5 separate regions of the Homo sapiens genome follow, and regions 2, 3, 4 and 5 are each linked to region 1. Evidence: promoter capture Hi-C in 16 types of primary human blood cells and fetal thymus (Javierre and others, 2016). All regions are on one chromosome and are shown on one strand. Each heading gives the region's core, a stretch centred on a gene start or on the middle of the fragment in contact. The rest is flanking DNA. Distances are from core to core; before and after follow the strand shown. Region 1 holds the start of ZRANB2 (zinc finger RANBP2-type containing 2). Region 2 overlaps WARS2-AS1 (WARS2 antisense RNA 1). Region 3 has its middle 5.5 kb from the start of PRMT6. Region 4 overlaps RNPC3 (RNA binding region (RNP1, RRM) containing 3). Region 5 overlaps TLCD4-RWDD3 (TLCD4-RWDD3 readthrough).

The links. The method cuts DNA at HindIII sites, captures the fragments that hold promoters and counts their contacts. A CHiCAGO score of 5 or more calls a contact.
Region 2: a fragment that was not itself captured here is called in contact with the fragment with the promoter of ZRANB2 in region 1 in 1 of 17 cell types (total CD4 T cells); the score reaches 5.9 in total CD4 T cells.
Region 3: a contact is called between a fragment that was not itself captured here and the fragment with the promoter of ZRANB2 in region 1, in 1 of 17 cell types (non-activated CD4 T cells). The highest score is 5.1, in non-activated CD4 T cells.
Region 4: a contact is called between a fragment that was not itself captured here and the fragment with the promoter of ZRANB2 in region 1, in 4 of 17 cell types (total CD4 T cells, total CD8 T cells, activated CD4 T cells and 1 more). The highest score is 9.3, in total CD4 T cells.
Region 5: a fragment that was not itself captured here is called in contact with the fragment with the promoter of ZRANB2 in region 1 in 3 of 17 cell types (total CD4 T cells, activated CD4 T cells and naive CD4 T cells); the score reaches 8.1 in total CD4 T cells.

What each region holds. Positions count from the first base shown.
Region 1 is chr1:71,079,264-71,083,249 of GRCh38, reverse strand. ZRANB2 (zinc finger RANBP2-type containing 2) reads left to right here and starts at 2,215. Exons shown (of 10, transcript NM_203350.3): 1 at 2,215-2,310. The coding sequence starts at 2,255. It overlaps ZRANB2-DT (ZRANB2 divergent transcript), which reads right to left and starts at 1,926. Exons shown (of 4, transcript NR_046217.1): 1 at 1,837-1,926. RefSeq lists an enhancer at 1,976-2,265. The HindIII fragment of the contact is 3,322 bases long and covers 1-2,360 here.
Region 2 is chr1:119,147,754-119,151,739 of GRCh38, reverse strand. It overlaps WARS2-AS1 (WARS2 antisense RNA 1), which reads right to left. Exons shown (of 7, transcript NR_125975.1): 4 at 994-1,175. Among named protein-coding and RNA genes, the nearest start is that of WARS2, 9.1 kb to the right of the region's middle. The HindIII fragment of the contact is 7,646 bases long and covers 1-3,986 here.
Region 3 is chr1:107,049,210-107,053,195 of GRCh38, reverse strand. No RefSeq gene overlaps it. Among named protein-coding and RNA genes, the nearest start is that of PRMT6, 5.5 kb to the left of the region's middle. The HindIII fragment of the contact is 6,068 bases long and covers 1-3,986 here.
Region 4 is chr1:103,528,890-103,532,875 of GRCh38, reverse strand. All of the region lies in intron 2 of RNPC3 (RNA binding region (RNP1, RRM) containing 3), which reads right to left. Among named protein-coding and RNA genes, the nearest start is that of RNPC3, 5.2 kb to the right of the region's middle. The HindIII fragment of the contact is 1,946 bases long and covers 1,059-3,004 here.
Region 5 is chr1:95,236,170-95,240,155 of GRCh38, reverse strand. All of the region lies in intron 7 of TLCD4-RWDD3 (TLCD4-RWDD3 readthrough), which reads right to left. All of the region lies in intron 1 of RWDD3 (RWD domain containing 3), which reads right to left. Among named protein-coding and RNA genes, the nearest start is that of RWDD3, 4.0 kb to the right of the region's middle. The HindIII fragment of the contact is 1,601 bases long and covers 985-2,585 here.

The DNA of each region.
Region 1 (3,986 bases), core at 966-3,465:
TGTAAGAGGAGAGAGCTAGAGAAGAGGATCCCCTAATTCTATGTATGAACCTATACAAGTTCTGTGTTCACACCTAAACTGAACACGTGCAGAACAAACACAAAATAGCATAGCAAAACTGAATTTCAATTTAAACTACTGCTAACATCCCCAAATAATCCCTGAGTATTGTAGGTATAGGACACAGCAAAGCCTTTGAAAACCCAGCTGACATGGAACCAGTACTCATAGAAGATGAGACCGAACTTTTGACCTGAACCAAATTGGATCGATTGCCTTCTAAAACAAAAAAAAATCAACATTCCCTAAAGGCTTTTAACAGGACTCAGTCTATGCAACATAATGTTCAAAATGTCCTAGATAAAATCCACAATTACACAGTATAAAAGAACTGGAAAAATGTGACCAACTTGCAAGGGAAAATATAATCAACACCTGCTAACTCCTAGATGACCAAAATGTTATAATACAGATTTTAAAGCAACAATCATAACTAGAGAGTAGTTGAACAATTTCTCTCCTAAACATAATCATACTTGCATAAAGACATTTCAGTCAATGATGAACCACATATACAAAGGTGGTCCCATAAGATTACAATACCATATTTTTACTGTACCTTTATATTTAGATACACAAATACCACTGCGTTACAACTGCCTACAGTATTTAGTACAATAAGATGTACTAAATGCAGGTTTGTAGTCTAGGAGCAATAGGCTATACCATATAGCCTAGGTGTGTAGTAGGCTATACCTGCTAGGCCTGTGTAAGCACATTCTATGATGTTCACACAACAGCACAATTGCCGAAAGTGGCATTTCTCAGAACATATCCCTATCATTAAGTGAGGCATGACTGTATATGCTGTATTCTAAAAAAAATTAATGCATTTATATACCAGAATCTATGCATAAGAATGCTCATACTGGTGTTGTTTGTAATACCAAGCCTGAGAAACAGAAGGAATAAACTGTCACAAAACCACAAAACGGAATAGTATCAGTATACATCAGTGCAAATAAAAGAATTACACCTATACACTTCTACATGCAACTACCTAGGATTAATTTAGAAGCATAATGAACAAAAAAAGAGTACAGAATCAACTATGCTTACACAGCTCATAAAATTAAACATACATGTATGTTAGGTTTTGAAGGGAAGGCAAGGATTAAAGAAAGAGAGGGTGGCTTAACAACAAATACAGGATTTATGTCCAGCATAAGACCTACAGAGGTGGGAGACCAGCTTAATGCCAGTGCCCGTTGCTTCTTACAGGCTGGGGTGATTTATAGGCCTGGGTGGGAGTGGTCTGGGGGGCCATGGCCTGCTTCCTGGGAACATGTTGATAAGGTGTTCCCAGGACGAGGCGGCTCTGGCCCTTGTTCCAGTGGAATGTGGTACTTTCTCCCAGCAGAGTATAAGAGGCAGCCTGTTTCTCACGCCCGAACCCCGTGGAATGTTTCACTTTGACTAAGGTCTGCAAAATGGCAGGGGGGCTTACAAAAATGGTGCAGTTTGGACTAACAACGTACATAAATTTTTAAAAAGCAAAAGAATAAATCCCAAATATGGGAAAGTGTTATCTGTGGAAGAAAGTAATGGGATGGTATCAGAAAAGACACTGGTAATTTAAACAGTGTTGACAATGTCTCAGTTTTAAAATTACCAGCTGGTTCCCATGTATAAGTTGCTTACTTATCTGTTACACCTATTTATGTATATATAAAAATAGGTTTCCAAACGACATCCCATGTGTATGAAATAACAGAATTTTTATGCCTTATTAAAATAATTTCTCTAAACACTTGAAGAGCCCGAGCCGCCTCTTACCCTAAACGAACCCCACGCCCCTGAATTGATCAGTCACTTCCGCCTCCACCTTTCCAGCTCCACCTAAGGAAGCGGAAGTACTTTACTCTTGGGTCCTCCCACCTGTAGGGGGCTCTCCGAGGCTTCTAGTGCCACGAAGGCCTCCTGCCTGGGTTGTCCTTATGGCGCCTGTGAGTTTAGTTCTAGAAAAGATATTTGTATTTTAACTTTTCCATCTAACAAACAGTAGCACAGGCATCTTAGTCTGGACAACAACGTACAAGCTGAATTCCTGGCTAGTTCCCTCATTATCAAACCCTGACACAGTAGTAGGCGCGAGTCAGGCAGTGTGGGGACAGCCCCGAGTTGCCGAAAGTCCCCGGCCCGTTTTCCTCCTGTGAAGACATAGCTGCGGGTGGCTGTGCTGGTGGCGTTCAAGATGTCGACCAAGAATTTCCGAGTCAGTGACGGGGACTGGATTTGCCCTGACAAAAAGTGAGTTCAAGAAGGGTCCTGAATTGGGACGGAGTTTGTTAGTGGAAGCTTTCCGAGGTCCGTCCGGCATTTTCCTTTTTTATGATTTTCTGTGCCTTAAGACGGGTTGAGGCGGCGAACCGCCAGTTCCCTGGCGGGAAGAAGGCTCCCAATCTCCTCACGAGAGAGGTCTTTCCGGGAGCCTTTGTTCTAGATATGTCTTCAGCGTTTCCTCGACATTACCTCCGCAAGGTAGCCTCTCTTTTTAGAGTGCGAGATGGCCTACCTTTTTGCCCCCACCCCCCTCCCCCGCCCCGGCCAGGTTTTAGCGATAGGAAACCTCTCCAGTCAGGCCAGCTTGGTGTTGGATCTCCCCCACGTGACTTTTCTCTGCAGAACTTTACTCTTGTTCACGGAAAATATTGCTTTCTCGCACTCGTCCTTTTGCCTCTTATAGTTCACCTTGTTTTGTATTTTTACTCAAACTTTTCCTCCATACTATTTTCCCCTTTTCCGGAAGCTCTACCCTCTTCGGTTTGGGAAATTCTGACATTTTCTTTGTGGATCATTTCTCCACAAGAATTGGGCTTTTCGCCTCCTTAGAGCCGAAAAGGAGGGAAGAGGCCTGTGTTTTTGCCTACTCAGCCCTTAAGATGCCTGCAGCAGAGAAGCACGTGTGTTAGTGGCTCTGCTTTTTGACATTGTTGCCAAAGCCAGTACTCGACTAGATAGTTAATCAGATTTTTTTTGAAGGGTGCACAAATAGGTGTATCTATTCGGAAATAACATGGAAAATAATTTAATGTACAACTCATGTTCACATAAAAGCCTTTTATTTGTTGTACCTAAGTTAGCCACAAATAGGTTTTGATTGTAAAAAGCAAAAACTTTGAAATAAACCTGGGTTTAGTTAAAATTCTATTACTTATTTAACTGCTAAAAAAGGAATAGAATTTTTTTTTTAATGAAAACATGAAATAACATGGATAGGGTGTGTAAACAGTGACGTGTAGCAAATTCTAATTGGTGGCTATTGATAGTAATTTGATATTAAGATGACCTGAAGGAGTAGTTCAAGCCTAACAAATGATACTGAATAGAACCAAAGTTATATGTTATGGATAGTATTGCTCTGAGTGGTAAGACATTATTGAAAACGTTCAAAAGATTTAGAACAACAACTTCTGACTTTGTTGTTACCTGTAAAATAATGTGCTTTTGTCAGTGTCTTTAATGACAGCACACCCAGAGGTAGGACTCTCAATGAGAGTTCATTTCAACTCATTTACAAATATATGAATAGAATGTTGTTTGTACAATATGTTTAAATGCAGGATAAATTTTCAGAGTATATTTTCCATGCTTAATGGAGTTAAAAGGAATATTTTTAGGGGAAAAACTTAACCTAAATATTATTTAGAGTGTTTCACTTTAGTGTCATCCCATACTTCACATCTGTATTGTATTCTAGTATAATGCCTTAAAAATCAGCTTTTTAAAGTTTAAGCATTCCATGTTATCCAGAGCATTTAACATACTTTTACCAATATACACGTACACTTCTAAGGTCATGTGAGTGAACCAGTAATTCTTTAGGTTTGAGTTTGTTGAGTATAAGCATAAAGTCTTACTGTACTACATGTGTTGAGATTATTGGTTTTGGTGGTTGTGTCATTTTTTTCAGCGAAGTCTCAGAG
Region 2 (3,986 bases), core at 666-3,165, about 48 Mb before region 1:
CAAAAGAAGACATTTATGCAGCCAAAAAACACATGAAAAAATGCTCATCATCACTGGCCATCAGAGAAATGCAAATCAAAACCACAATGAGATACCATCTTACACCAGTTAGAATGGTGATCATTAAAAAGTCAGGAAACAACAGGTCCTGGAGAGGATGTGGAGAAATAGGAACACTTTTACACTGTTGGTGGGACTGTAAACTAGTTCAACCATTGTGGAAGTCAGTGTGGCAATTCCTCAGGGATCTAGAACTAGAAATACCATTTGACCCAGCCATCCCATTACTGGGTATATACCCAAAGGATTATAAATCATGCTGCTATAAAGACACATGCACACGTATGTTTATTGTGGCATTATTCACAATAGGAAAGACTTGGAAACAACCCAAATATTCAACAATGATAGACTGGATTAAGAAAACGTGGCACATATACACCATGGAATACCATGCAGCCATAAAAAATGATGAGTTCATGTCCTTTGTAGGGACATGAATGAAGCTGGAAACCATCATTCTCAGCAAACTATTGCAAGGAGAAAAAACCAATCACCGCATGTTCTCACTCATAGGTGGGAATTGAACAATGAGAACACATGGACACAGGAAGGGGAACATCACACACTGGGGACGGTTGTGGGGTGGGGGGAGGGGGGAGGGATAGCATTAGGAGAGATACCTAATGCTAAATGACGAGTTAATGGGTGCAGCACACCAACATGGCACATGTATACATATGTAACAAACCTGCACGTTGTGCACATGTAACCTAAAACTTAAAGTATTAAAAAAAAAAAAAATTAGCCGGGTGTGGTGGGCGCCTGTAATCCCAGCTACTTGAGAGGCTGAAGCAGGAGAATCGCTTGAACCCGGAAGATGGACGCTGCAGTGAGCCAAGATCAGTCCACTGCACTCCAGCCTGGGCAGCAGAGCAAGACTCCATCTCAAAGAAAACAAAAACAAAAACAAAAACAAATGTATTAGCTTACGATTCTTGGGGTAAGAAGTCCTGAAATCAAGGTGGAGGCAGGGCTGTGTTCCATCTGGAGGCTTTAGGGGAGAATCCAGGCTTTTCTTTTCTACCTGCATTCCTTGACTCTGGGTCCTCTTCCATCTTCCAACCTCTGTTTCCATCATCACATTTCCTTCTTAGACTGACTCTCCTGCTCCCCTGTTAGAAAAACCTCTATGATTACATTGGACTAAACAGAATAAACCAGGATAATATTCTCATCTCAAGATTCTTAATCACATCTGCAAAGTTCCTTCTGCCATATAGCCATCTTCAGGGCCCATCATTCTATCTACCTTTGGGGCAGAGAAACAGAAAATCTGTGCACATACTGGTCCACCCTCTCCTAAAGAGCAGTGTGACTTCATTTGCATTCTCTTTGATCTTAGTTTCCTTACTTGTAAATAAGAAAATGCATTTAACAAATATGTTACTAGACATGCACATTCTGAACTTTGAGGATGCATAATAAAGCAGACAAAAGGCTATGCTCCCATGCTGCTTATGTTCTAGAGGCGGAGAAAATAAAGTAAAATGTTTTAGGTGGTAACTGGTGAGCATTGGTGAGGAGACCAGCATGTCTGGAGTAAAGCAAAGCAGGGGGAAGTTAATGGGGAAAGGGCCAGAAAGAGAGGTTGGGATGGGGGATGCAGGTCACTTAGGTCTTATAGGTTTTGAGAACTTTGGATTTTTTCCAAATGACATGGAAAGTCACTGGAGGGTTTTGGGCAGAGTAGTGACCATGAGCTGACATACATTTTAATAGGTCACTCTGATGGCTGATTGAAAATACACGTAAGCGGGTGAAGGAGGAAGCAGGGAGATGTGTCGGTACCTTATTCTCTTTACTCTCACCTTTCTTTATGCTCTATTCATTTGCATATCCTTGCTTTCTTCATGCAGTTCTCTCTCCTAAGGGCACCCTGCTCCTCTTTCCAATTCAAAATTCTATACAGACACTCCTTCAAGATTGAGCTCAGTACTCATCTTAGAGCAGTAAGGAAACTTTGGGAGCTTATTCTTTGCCCCCATTTTCAGATGAGGACACTGAGGTCCAGAACTCTTAGGAAGCCTGTCCAAGGTTATACGAACAGCAAGCAGTGAGGCTAGGATTGCTGACAAAGTGTGATTCTAAGGAAATCACAAGGGCTTCCTGATACAAAGATGTTTCTCTTGAATTTTCTTCTTCTTTTTTTTTTTTTTTGACAAACCCACAGCCAACATCTTATGTCTTGAAATTCTGTTTGTTGTTTGCCTTCTCCTTCATTAAACGGAGATCTTGACGAGCACAGATGGTATCCTATTCAGCTCTGTGCATTTAGTACAGTGCCTGGCACAAAAGACACCCAATAAGTATTTGCTAGGTGAGTAAATAATGGAATGTCAAGCTCTTGAAAATCTGTGTGTGTGTGTTACTAGTCTCATGTCTTCCCCAAGTTCACCATCTCATGGTGTTAAATGTCAGTTGGACAGGTCTAAAAACTTTTTTTTTTGAGACGGAGTCTCGATCTGTCTCCCAGGCTGGAGTGCAGTGGCACGATCTCGGCTCACTGCAACCTCCACCTCCTGGGTTCACACCATTCTCCTGCCTCAGCCTCCCGAGTAGCTGGGACTACAGGTGCCTGCCACCATGCCCGGCTAATTTTTGTTATTTTTAATAGAGTCAGGGTTTCACCATGTTAGCCAGGATGGTCTCGATCTCCTGACCTCGTGATCCGCCTGCCTTGGCCTCCCAAAGTGTTGGGATTACAGGCGTGAGCCACCGCGTCCGGCCACCAAGGACAGGTCTAAAAACTTATGAGCTGAGTGTTCTAGAAAAGGAGACCTTATTATTGTCTTAAAAAAAAAAAGGAGTGGCAACAGGATTAGAGTGGGGATCTTCCCAACACAGTAAAGATCAGAGCTAGAGACCCTCTTCTTTTCCTTCCCTCCTTAATTCTCAAGCAGTCTGGGATAAGAGGGATGAACTAAGTTCTAAACGAATGTCACTCTTTGAGGAGAAACCACAGCCCTGTGTCCTGTGACCTTCTGTGCACTAGGCATGGTAGTCTTGTTTTTACTGAGGTGATAACTAGCCGTGACAACGTAAGTGGTAAGTGTACCCCCGCCTCTTACTCCTGTGGTGGGGTTGTGCATGCAGACCAGGAGAAAGGCCCCAAGAAGTATGTCCCTGTTTTCACTGTCAGTGGTTGTGTGGACTCATACTGAATTATCTAGTGGCTAATATTTTTAAAAATAGGGGACTTGGCTGGGCGTGGTGACTCATGCCTGTAATCCCAGCACTTTGGGAGGCTGAGGTGGGTGGATCGCCTGAGGTCAAGAGTTCGAGACCAGCCTGCCCAACATGGTGAAACCTCATCTCTACTAAAAATACAAAAATCAGCTGGGTGTGGTGGTGGGCACCTGTAATCCCAGCTACTCAGGAGGCTGAGGCAGGAGAATCACTTGAACCCAGGAGGCAGAGGTTGCAGTGAGCCCAGATCACTCCACTGCACTCCAGCCTGGGCAACAGAGTGAGACTCTGTCTAATAAAAAAAAAAAGGTGGAAAAGTTAAGGACTTTCCAATGTCACTTTACTTGCTATAGCAGTGTTAGAACTGGGAATAAAGTCCCATCTTCTTTTCAGTGCACCCACTGCCTTCTGGGACACATTTTCTTGTTTTTTTGCTTCAATCCTCCTAGTGGAAGTTTACCCTCTCAGATTACAACTGATATGAACAGATCCTTAAAAACAGAACTGGCACACAGAGAACTTGATGATAAATTGGAAGATGATGCAAGCACAAGGACTGAATCCAGAAATAAATCATATCTTCACATAATGTTTATAGAAATTGCATTTTGAAAATTTTCCATAGAAATTATTTTACCCACGACAGGAATGCTACTCTCTCCCACAGGGATTTGACCAAACAGAAGGGGAAGCAGAACGGAGGAAGAGTAGTAATTTAGATTTATATACGAATTACT
Region 3 (3,986 bases), core at 573-3,072, about 36 Mb before region 1:
CACGCGCCTGTAGTCCCAGCTACTCAGGAAGCTGAGGCAGGAGAATCGCTTGAACCCGGAAGGCAGACGTTGCAGTGAGCAGAGATTGTGCCACTGCACTCCAGCCTGGTGAAAGAGCGAGACTCCGTCTAAAAAAAGTACTGTATGTATATTTCTTGCTTCAGGTTATGGTTAAAAGTTTGAAATATACAGCTTACTGTTCTCCAAAAACACTATGAATTTTGGGACTTCTGTACTTTTGCTTTGCGTGCCTCTACTCTTCCCTCCTCTCACTCATCTTTTTAGCTAATGCTCAAATGATGTTTTTTCAGCCAGTCTATGGCCCTTTAATACATATAACTCTTTTTGCACTTGTATCATTGTATCAGAACTATTTATATATCTGGCTTTGGACTGTGGACATTTGAACACCAAGATTTTGTATTTTTCATTTTTATGCTGAGAACCTAGTGCATTGTGCTGGAATCTGGACCTTTCCATATTCCAGATTGTTGCTCCCAAGTATACTGAGGTTCACAGATGTGCTTTGGATGACTGGGAGAATCATGATCTCTTTTCTGTATCAAACACACTCATTTATTTGTTCAACCATTCATTTATTCAACAGGCATTCTGGACTTTTATCATTCTAGAAATAAGGAATAAAGTAAACAAAAAGCAAACATTCTTATCTCTGAGGAACTTATATTTTTGTGTTAATGTTATGTTATCTATTATTATTATGCTTTTTTACTAGCAATTTATTATACCACTTTTAAGTCTCAACTCTCATGTATTATTTTATCTTGGATGTGCTGATGTGATATTCTCCCACAAATATTTATTTCTAAATTTCTTTCCCTTTTTAATTCAAAGGTATATTATTTAAAAATATTTTTTAAAGCCTAGTGTAAGGATTGAAGATAGTTCTTTCAGGATTTCAAAAATTCACTGTAATTCTCAAAGTGTGTTGAGGAAGGGTAAAGGAGCAATGGCATGAAAAATGTTATAACTGTCTCTTTGATATGAATATTCGTTAAATGATGTAGTTCTTGCCATTCTGCAGTTACTTGGAAGCTGCCAGCATAGAAAGAAGTACTACTGTTAAAAAAAATTTATATAAAATAAAGACACAAGTGGTGACTTTTATGTCTAAACAAATTGGAACATCAAACATAGAAAGCCTAGGTATATGTTATTATCTTGATATGTATAGTGTCTTTTAGATCCGTGGTGTATTGGCCCAGCTATTAAACCCCATACTGAAACAGATGAATAGCAAATTCACAGCTTCTTGATGATATTATTATGAGTGGGTGTAATTCTTTAAGAAAAGTTTGTATTGAATTGTTTAGGTAGTATAAACAAGGATATTATACACTTAATTAATAATTATCAATTCAGTTTCTATTTATTGAGCCCTCTTAAAATACAGAATATTGAACTGTAACAACTTCAGGTATAAATATTGATTATGACATTTTAACAATTTCTACTATAAATCAGGCCAACCATAATAAAAATAGTAAAGAAAAATGTGAATGTAAATTATAATGTGGGGAAAAGTTATGTCTCAGTGCATCCATGGAAATGTACACCTGCTTACCTACCTAAGGCATAATGAGAATCGGGTAGCTTAATGAAATTCAGATATTAAGCCTAATGAATATCATTTAATAGAACTTCTGTCTCTTTTTTATTCTTTTGTGCAAACCTTTAACATGAAAGAAAGCCAGCTATTGGCTTTTTTTTGCTGTGTCATGCTTTTTTATTTTCTAACTTTTATGGGTACATATTAGGTGTATATAATTATGAAGTACATATGATTTCTTTTAAATTTAATTTAATTTTATATTAAGTTCCAGGATACATGTGCAGGATGTGCAGGTTTGTTACATAGGTAAACATGTGTTGTGGTGGTTTGCTGCACCTATCAACCCATCACCTAGGTATTAAGGCCCACAAGCATTAGCTATTTATCCTGATGCTCTCCCTCCCCCTGTTCCTCTGAAAGGCCCCAGTGTGTGTTGTTCCCCTCCCTGTGTCCCTGTGTTCTCATTGTTAACTTCCAATTATAAGTGAGAACATGTGACGTTTGGTTTTCTGTTCCTGTATTAGTTTGTTGAGGATAATGGCTTCTATCTCCATCCATTTCCCTGCAAAGGACATGATCTCTTTCCTTTTTATGGCTGCATAGTATTCCATGGTGTATATGTACCACAGACGACATGAACCTATATCTAGAAAACCCCATAGTCTCTGCCCAAAACCTCCTTAAGATAAGCAACTTCAGCAAAGTCTCAGGATACAAAATCAATGTGCAAAAAGCACAGGCATTCCTATACACCAACAATAGACAAGCAGAGTCAAATCATAAATGAACTCCCATTCACATCTGCTACAAAGAGAATAAAATACCTAGGAATATAGCTAAGAAGGGAAGCGAAGGACCTCTTCAAGGAGAACTACAAACCACTGCCCAAGGAAATAGGAGAGGACACAAACAAATGGAAAAACATTCCATTTTCATGGATAGGAAGAATCACTATTGTGAAAATGACCATACTGCGCCAAAGTAATTTGAGATTCAATGCTATTCCCATTAAACTACCATTGACATTCTTCACAGAATTAGAAAAAACTACTTTAAAAATCATACAGAACCAAAAAAGAGCCCATATAGCCAAGACAATCCTAAGCAAAAAACAAAGCTGGAGGCATCATGCTACTCAACTTCAAACTATACTTACTACAAGGCTACAGTAAACAAAAAAAGCATGGTACTGGTATAAAAACAGACACATAGACCAATAGAACAGAATAGAGATCTTACAAATAAGGCCACACATCTGCAACCATCTGACATTCAACAAACCTGATGAAAAGAAGCAATGGGAAAAGGATTCCCTATTTAATGAATTGTGCTGGCAAAATTGACTAGTCATATTGAAAAAGTGAAAATTGAAACTGGATCCCTTACTTATACCTTCTACAAATATTAACTCAAGATGGATTAAAGACTTAAATGTCAAACCCAAAACTATAAAAACCCTAGAAGAAAATGTAGGCAATACCATTCAGGACATAGGCACAGGCAAAGACTTCATGACAAAAACATCAAAAGCAATTGCAACAAAAGCAAAAATTGACAAATGAGATCTAATTAAACTAAAGAGCTTCTGCAAAGCAAAAGAAACTATCATCAGAGTGAACAGGCACCCTACAGAATAGGAGAAAAATTTTGCAATCTATCCATCTGACAAAGGTCTAATATTTGGCTTCTACCAAGAACTTAAACAAATTTACAAGAATAAATAAACAACCCCATTAAAAAGTGGGCAAAGGACATGAACACACACTTCTCAAAAGAAGACATTTGGCTGGGCGTGGTGGCTCACGCCTGTAATCCCAGCACTTTGGGAGGCCGAGGAGGGGGGAACACCAGGTCAGGAGATCGAGACCATCCTAGCTAACATGGTGAAACCCCATCTCTACTAAAAATACAAAAAATTAGCCAGGTGTGGTGGTGGGCACCTGTAGTCCCAGCAACTCAGGAGGCTGAGGCAGGAGAATGGCATGATCTCAGGAGGCGGAGCTTGCAGTGAGCAGAGATAGTGCCATTGCACTCCAGCCTGGGCGACAGAGCGAGACTCTGCCTCAAAAAAAAAAAAAAAAAAAAAAAAAAACCAGACATTTATGCAGCCAATGGACACGTGAAAAAAAGCTCAATGTAGTTACATTACATTGTGATCATTACAGACATGGAAATTGAAACCACAATGAGATACCATCGTACGCCAGTCAGAATCCTATTATTAAAGTCAAGAAACAACAGATGCTGGCGAGGCTGCAGAAAAATAGTAATGCTTTTCCACTGTTTATGGGAATGTAAATTAGTTCAACCATTGTGGAAGACAGTGGCGATTCCTCAAAGACCTAGAACCAGAAATGCCATTTGATCCAGCAATCCCATTACTGAGTATATACTCAAAGGAGTAGAAATCATT
Region 4 (3,986 bases), core at 782-3,281, about 32 Mb before region 1:
ACCTATTTCAATCAGGTTAATGCTTTAATAAGTTTACTGAGACTGCTTATCATAGACAACAAATTTTGCATTGTTGGGCTAATGATCAACTCCTAGTCTTCACTTGGTTGCATTTAACATAGTTAATCACTCCTTCCTGGATACATGTCATTCACTTGGCTTCAAGACTTCATACATTCTTAGTTTTCTTCCTAGCTCGCTGGTTTGTACTCCTCCATCTCTTTGACTTGTGCCTTCTCTCACGTTCTTAATGTTAGAATGCTCCAGAGCTCTTGTCCTGGTCTTCCTCTCTCTCTCAACATATTATGTTGGTGATTTAATCCAGCATCCGAACTTTAAATCTGTATGCTAATGATTCACTAATTTATAATTTCAGCACAGACTTCTGTCCTGAAGTCAAGGAACACATATTCAAATAATGGATAGCGCCCCATAGATATCTAACAAACATTTCAAATTCAACATTTCACTTAATCTTTCCCCCAGCCCCAAATGTGCTCCACCAGGAGCCATCTCTATTTCAGTTGATAGCAACTCCATTCTTCCAATTATTCAGGTCAAAAATCTTGTAATCATCCTTAATGCTTCTTTCCTACATTCCATATCCAAGTCATTAAGAAATCCTGTTTGCCTATACCATAAGGCCATAGTCATCAAAACAGCATGGTACTGGTATAAAAATAGGCACATAGACCAATGGAACAGAATAGAGAACACAGAAATAAACCCAAATACTTACAGGAAACTGATCTTCCAGAAAGCAAACAAAAACATAAAGTAGGGAAAAGACACCTTATTCAACAAATGGTGCTGGGATAATTGGCAAGTCGCATGTAGAAGAATGAAACTGGATCCTCATCTCTCACCTTATACAAAAATCAACTCAAGATGGATCAAGGACTTAAATCTAAGACCTGAAACCATAAAAATTCTAGAAGATAACATCAGAAAAACCCTTCTAGACATTGGCTTAGGCAAAGACGTCATGACCAAGAACCCAAAAGCAAATGCAACAAAAACAAAGATAAATAGATGGGACTTAATTAAACTAAAAAGCTTCTGCACAGCAAAAGAAACAATCAACAAACAGACAACCCATAGCGGGAGAAAATATTTGCAATCTATACATCCAAAAAAACCACTAATGTCCAGAATCTACAAGGAATCCAAACAAATCAGCAAGAAAAAAAACAATCCCATGGGCTAAGGACATGAATAGACAATTCTCAAAATAAGATACACAAATGGCCAACAAACATGAAAAACTGCTCAACATCACTAATGATCATGGAAATGCAAACCAAAATCATGAGGCAATACCTCCTTACTCCTGCAATAATGGTCATAATGAAAAAATCAAAACATAATAGATGTTGGCAGAATATGTGGTGAAAGTGACTTTCACACTGCTGGTGGTAATGTAAACTAGTACAGTAAGTATGAAAAATAGTGTGGAGATTCCTTAAAGAACTAAAAGTAGACCTACCATTTCATCCAGCAATCCCACTACTGAGTATCTACCCAGAGGACAATAAGTCATTATACAAAAAAGACAGTTGCACATGCACGTTTATAGCAGCACAATTTGCAATTGCAAAAATACGGAACCAGCCCAAATGCCCATCAATCAATGAGTGGATAAAGAAATTATGGTATATATATATATAACATGGAATACTACTCAGTCATAAAAAGGAACAAAATAATGGCATTTGCAGCAACCTAGATGGAATGGGAGACCATTATTCTAAGTGAAGTAACTCAGGAATCAAAAACCAAACATCGTATGTTCTCACTCCTAAGTAGGAGCTAAGCTATGAGGACCCAAAGGCATAAGAATGATACAATGGACTTTGAGGACTCAGGAGAAAGTGTTGGGAGTGGGGGTGAGGGATAAAAGACTTCACAATGGGCACAGTGTATATTGCTTGGGTGACAGGTACATCAAAATCTCAGAAATCACGACTAAAGAACTTATTCATGTAACTAAACACCACCTGTTCCCCCAAAACCTACTGGAATAAATACAGTAAGAAATCCTTGCTTCTACCTTCAAAATATATAAAGAATCTAATCACCGCTAACCACTACCATTGTGGTCAAGGCAACCATCAATTCTGGACTGAATTACCACAATATTTTAACGGATTTCCCTGTTTCTACCTTTCCCTCCCTTCAGTCTAGTCACAACAGCAAAAGCAATTCTTTGAAATACCAAGGTCACCCCCTTGCTCCAATGGCTCCCTATTTTACTGACAGCAATCTAAGTTCCTTACTATAATCTACATAATATAGATTCTATGACTTCTCTGACTTCAAATCCAATGATCACTCCCACTCCTGCTCCCACAGATCACTCCCACTATGTCTGCTCCAGTCACAGTGGCTTCCTTGAACAACGTGACAGGCATGGTCACATCCTAGAGCCCCTGTTCCAGCTGTTCCTCTAATTCAAAGGTACTTCTCCCAGAAATTTCATTAGCTAACTCCCTTCGCATCCTTCAAATTGTTGTTCAAATATAACCCTAACTACAGCCTGACCTCTCCCCACTTAGCACTCCTGATCTTATTGCTCTACTTGTCCTTTTTCCATAGCATTTATCATCTTCTAAAATATTAAAGTTTATTATTTATTGTCTGTCTCCCCTTTTGAGAATATGAACTATAATCATCTTTGTCTTCACATATAATCCCAAAACCTAAATCAGCATCTAGCACATAGTAGGTACTTAATATTTTTGAACACATGAAAGTACAAGCCTTAACCAGAGACCGGTTTTGTGCAAGACAATTTTTCCACAGGCTGGGGTGGGGGGTGGGGAGAAGATGGTTTCGAGATGAAACTGATTCATCTCGGATCATAAGGCATTAGTCAGATTCTCATTGAGAGCGCAACCTAGATCCCTTGCATGTGCAGTTCACAACAGGGGCCAAGGCACTGCTGATCTGACTGGAGGTGGAGCTCAGGCAGCCAGGCGGAGTCGCCCTGAATAGAGATAAAGCTTCCTCAGCCTGCCAGTCACCTCCTGCTGTGCGGCCCAGGTTCTAACAGGTGGTGGTTAGGTACCAGGCCGTGGCTGGGTACCAGTCTGTGTCCCAGGGTTTGAGGATCCCTGCCTTACATCATCATACAAAGTTAATTTTAAAATGTTTCAATAATTTTCAAGACCCTAAATGAACTTTAGACCTCTTTATTATCAGTGAAGCCTTGATTATCTGAAATGAAGGTCATCTAACCTGACTTACTCCAACTTTCTTCTTCTCAAATGGGTATCACATATGTTCTTATTTTCAAAGATTTATGGTTTTTCATTTTTAATGTTAACTCCTCCTACCTGACTCGGCTACTTACTCTATTCTTGAACATTTCTCCCTTTGTTTTCTTAATCTATCACTTTCCAATTAGGCCAAATGCTCTCTAGCCTAAAAGCCCTATCAATATTGCCGTTAACCTCTTACTGCTTCCTTTCACTACAGACATTTCCAAAGACAATGACTGGCTCCATGTCCTCTCCTCCAAGTTATTCTTGACCCTAAAACAATGCGTTTTTCATTACCATACTTTATTTACAATGTATTATGATATATTTTTAAAAATACTTTTTTTCTGAAAAAAAATTACCTACCATTATAAAAGTACATATTAATATAATATGAAAGCCCTCTGTAATCCTACTCTCAGAGAAAGATGTTTTTAACATTTTGGTGTATAGTTCTGCCATATTTTTTCTGTGTATATGCTAACATGTATACTATTAGTTTCAAAAAATCTGAGGTTACATCATATATAATGTTTCACAACTTTATTCATGTACTCTATCTGGGCTATCATTCCATATTAACACATACCATTTGACATCATTCTCAGACAGTTGCAGTCCAGTATATGGATATAATGTGATTTAAGGCTTCCCTTCCTTTTACCGATGAGAATTTGGGTCATTTCTATTGTTTCATGGCAAAAAGACTTTAATAGATGTGTTCAT
Region 5 (3,986 bases), core at 536-3,035, about 24 Mb before region 1:
AGAGAGCCTCTGCAGACATGATTAAGTTAACGATTTCGAGAGGGGAGTATTATCCTGGATTACCCAGGTGAGCCCTGAATGTAATCACAAGGGTCCCTATAAGGAGGAGACAGAGATTTTACTACAAAAGAAGGCAATGTATCCGCACTGAAGCAAGATGCTATGCTGCAAACTTTGAAGAATCCTTTTCTGATCAAAACCCTGAGACCCACAGTGTTCTCCAACCTGTGCCATATAAACACCTACCGGGTCCTCTCTGGTGCAGGGAACCACAGGAAAGAAACATGTTGGTAGTCCAGGGGGAAAGTCTTGAAAAGCTACTGAGCCAGCCATGTCAGTCCTTACCAATTTTCATTTTTCTCTGTGTTATTTTCTGGTCCTAGTCAGCAAACAGAATAGCAATGGGTGAAACTCCTGACTTTCACCTTAGAAAACTGTGACCGTCATACTAGTTATATGTTCGGAAGAAAACTGCCTTAGTTCTTTTAAGAATTGGAAAGGATTAGCATTCTTCCTAATTGGTCTTGGTAAATCCCCCTGCCCACCCACACATACACTGTAGCTGCAAAATAAGATTATACAAAATGATACTGTCATCTCTACAAGAAACTGAAAAGCCCAATAACATACTCCATTCTTCTGGTATTTAATGTGGCAATAAAATTACATACTTTTAAAAACTCATTTTCTCCCAAAAACTCTAGAAGTATGTATTGTACTCTTCCATATCTCATCTGCTTGACATTGTACAAGCAATTAAACTGGCTCCTTTCTGCCTCAGAATTTTTCATATGACACATGCACTGTAAGTCTGATTTTTTGTTTTCTTTTTTTGCCATAATAAAAAAGAAAACAAAGTTGCCCCTATCTGCTTTAAGGTTATTAACAGCTTAGAAACAGTGATTAGCAGAAAAATAATTATGCTCTAAATCTAATACTAATCTCTGCCCCTCCTTAGCCCCCCAGAACCTTAGTTAATAAGCTTAATTCACAAACTGATCATTCTCAACAAACATCTATGCCCTAGAAAACTTAAGGCTTGCCCCAGAAAACTAAAATCTCCATAAGTCCAAGGGTGTTTTCATGTATTCTAAAGACCCTACCAAAAGGGTCTTGCCCTCTTGTTCAAGTTGATACAAATTGACTACTTGTTGTTTCTAACCAAATCATTCTGTCTTATAGTAAGTGTATCATTTTCATACCTAAAACACAAACTGAAACAGGTTTCAAACCTTATGCTTCCTTACAAACATCAGAAAGTAAGCTCCTAAACACATTCCAAACAGAAATTCAAACTAGAGAAACTTAAACTTTTAGAACTCCAAATTCACACTAATGCTATTTTTAAGGTTTCATTCTACTTAATAAAATACAACACACAACAGAAACTCTATAAATGCAGTCAAATAACAGAAGACATTTTTAAAAAAAGGTAAAATTTAAGAGAATGGGTTTTTCAGGATTCACTAAGAGCCCATTAAGAAATTGTTTACATACCATATACATCTGACCTTCCCTACACTTGTGTTTTTTTTCTTTGCAATTGTTATATATCCTCAAGATACAACTTTGAAGAAAACCACCAAGAAACCTTCAGCACCCTCTCATACTTGGTAAGACAAGACTGTCTCCTCTTGCTCCCAGGCAGCTCCCAGGCAAGCATACACCAGTGCTTGTTTTATGCTTCAGTTGGATTTTTACATAAGTTTCAATGTAGCTTCAGAAGAAAAAAAAAAAAACTAAAAATAAATGAAGCTAAAAGTAGCAATCTCATCGGTTTTATAGAAGTCAGCTCAATACTGACAATCAGCATAAAACCGAGCTGAGCAGATTTAGAGGGGTCAATGTGTGACAGTCATGATTCATTTTATAAGAAGGCCCAAACTAATTTGAACATTAGTGTTGCTAAAATACAAAAATTCACTCTGCAGCTTCTGTGAAAACCTATTACATGATATTGGGTTCTCCCATCTTACAACTTTTTTATCTGTAAGATTCTTTCCAGAAGCACAACTCCCACATATAACGAACATTGACTATGGCCACATAATCTGTGTCACTCAATTTCCTCATCAGGAAAATGGTGATACAATACCAATCTCACGCCTCTCATAGATCCACACATACATGCACAAACACTCCCCTTTGGGATTGTTCTGAACATAAGTTGGCTCACACTCATATCTTTTCTCTGGGTGCTCATTATCGCTCTTTCTGCACAAGTATTTCCTTGCTTTCCAAGAACTATTTTCCTGATGCAACAGCCCCATCTCTCTATTAAGGAGCATGATGCAGTGCAAAGGCCCATACACCTGGAGCCTGGTGGTTATTTAACCAGTCTGAGTATCAGTTATCTTCTCTGTGAAGTAAGACCAATAGTACCCCTCATCAAGTAAGATGCATTTCAAGTATCACGTACATGGCAGGTCACCCCATCAAATCTGGCACCTGGACTGACTACAATGCATACAGAAAAACAGAATATCCCTAATGTGGTCTATCCACAGCCCTCCCTTGTAGATGGGAGTGTAGGGACTTACTTAATTTGCACCCCTAAGAGATGGTTATGCCTCTTACTAGAAGCTTACTATAACCATTGTAAAGAGATCAAAAGGCAGATAAAATCCCCTGAAATTCTCAGCATAAAATTAGTCCAGCTAAATGGAATCCAATTATTTAGCTTCTTCAATCTTACGGCCTTAATAGTTGATCCTTGGGTTAGCAGTCTGAGTCTTGCTGGGTTATCTTGTTACCAGGAATGCAATTCCTCTGCAACATTCTCCTGATTCCAGTGGCAAAAGGGAGAACCTTATTTGGGGGAGGCCAGAAAAGAACTAGTGTTTAGAGTGTTCTGGTATCAAGTGTGTATCCTCCAACCCAAACTGACAGTGATGGTGAGTGGTAGCCAGCAGTCTGCTGCATGTTTACTGTGGTCTGTTAAAGAAGTCCTTACTTTGTAAAAAGATGTTACGAAAATCATGGGAAAAAAAAAAAAGGCCTTTACCTTACCCCCTTAATTCCCACTTGTGAACATCAAACATCCCCATTTCAATCACTGAATTATTCTACCTCTCAGCAACAAAATGTCCTAAGTTGTTACACTGAATTCTTTTATAATTCAATTACTTATTGATGCCAGAACATGGAATTAAACTAATTAGGAGGCATGGCTTGAAAGTCATGCTCAATTTAACAGCAGATAAAGGGTTCACAGTGTTCTCAAGATTAAGAAACTGTTTTCTTTCTATGCTTACATTTTTGGGTTTTCTCTGACCCTTCAGCAGTGTTTTATGCTCAGCTGTGTACTAATGACCCAGACCATTACCAGTTCTTTAAGGTGTGATGGGAAATTGCAGGTTCATTTTTCCAGGATATTCCCAACTGAGCCATAATAAAGGAATTTAGGAAAACTGATGATCTCTTCAAATAGCTGCCTCAGGCAGAAGTAATTATCAATAAAGAGAACAGTGGAGACAGAGAGGGAGATGGTGAAGAATTATCCAATCAGAAGAGGGATGACAAGAAAACACTAAAAGTGAGTAAACCCCTTCATATGGATTTTAAACAATTGTTTCAAAAGATACAAGTCAGGCTGGGCACTAAAAAGAAAGCAACTCCATTACACTAATAGGTGCATAGTGCCTGGAACATAACAGTGCCCAATGAGTGGATGTGAGTGGATGAATGCAAGAAGGAATAAATGGAAGTCAACTCCCTGTCCTTCAGTGAATAACACACCCAATGGATATCATGAAGGATCTTAATCTTAAATGGTTTTCTCACAACATCCAGCCCATTTTTAGACTACTTTTTTTTTTTTTTTCTGAGACAGAGTTTCACTCTTGTTACCCAGGCTGCAGTGCAATGAATGGTGAGATCTTGGCTCACTGCAACCTCCGCCTCCCGGGTTCAAGTGATTCTCCTGCCTCAGCCTCCCGAGTAGCAAGGATCACAGGCGTGTGCCACCATGCCCAGCTAATTTTTGT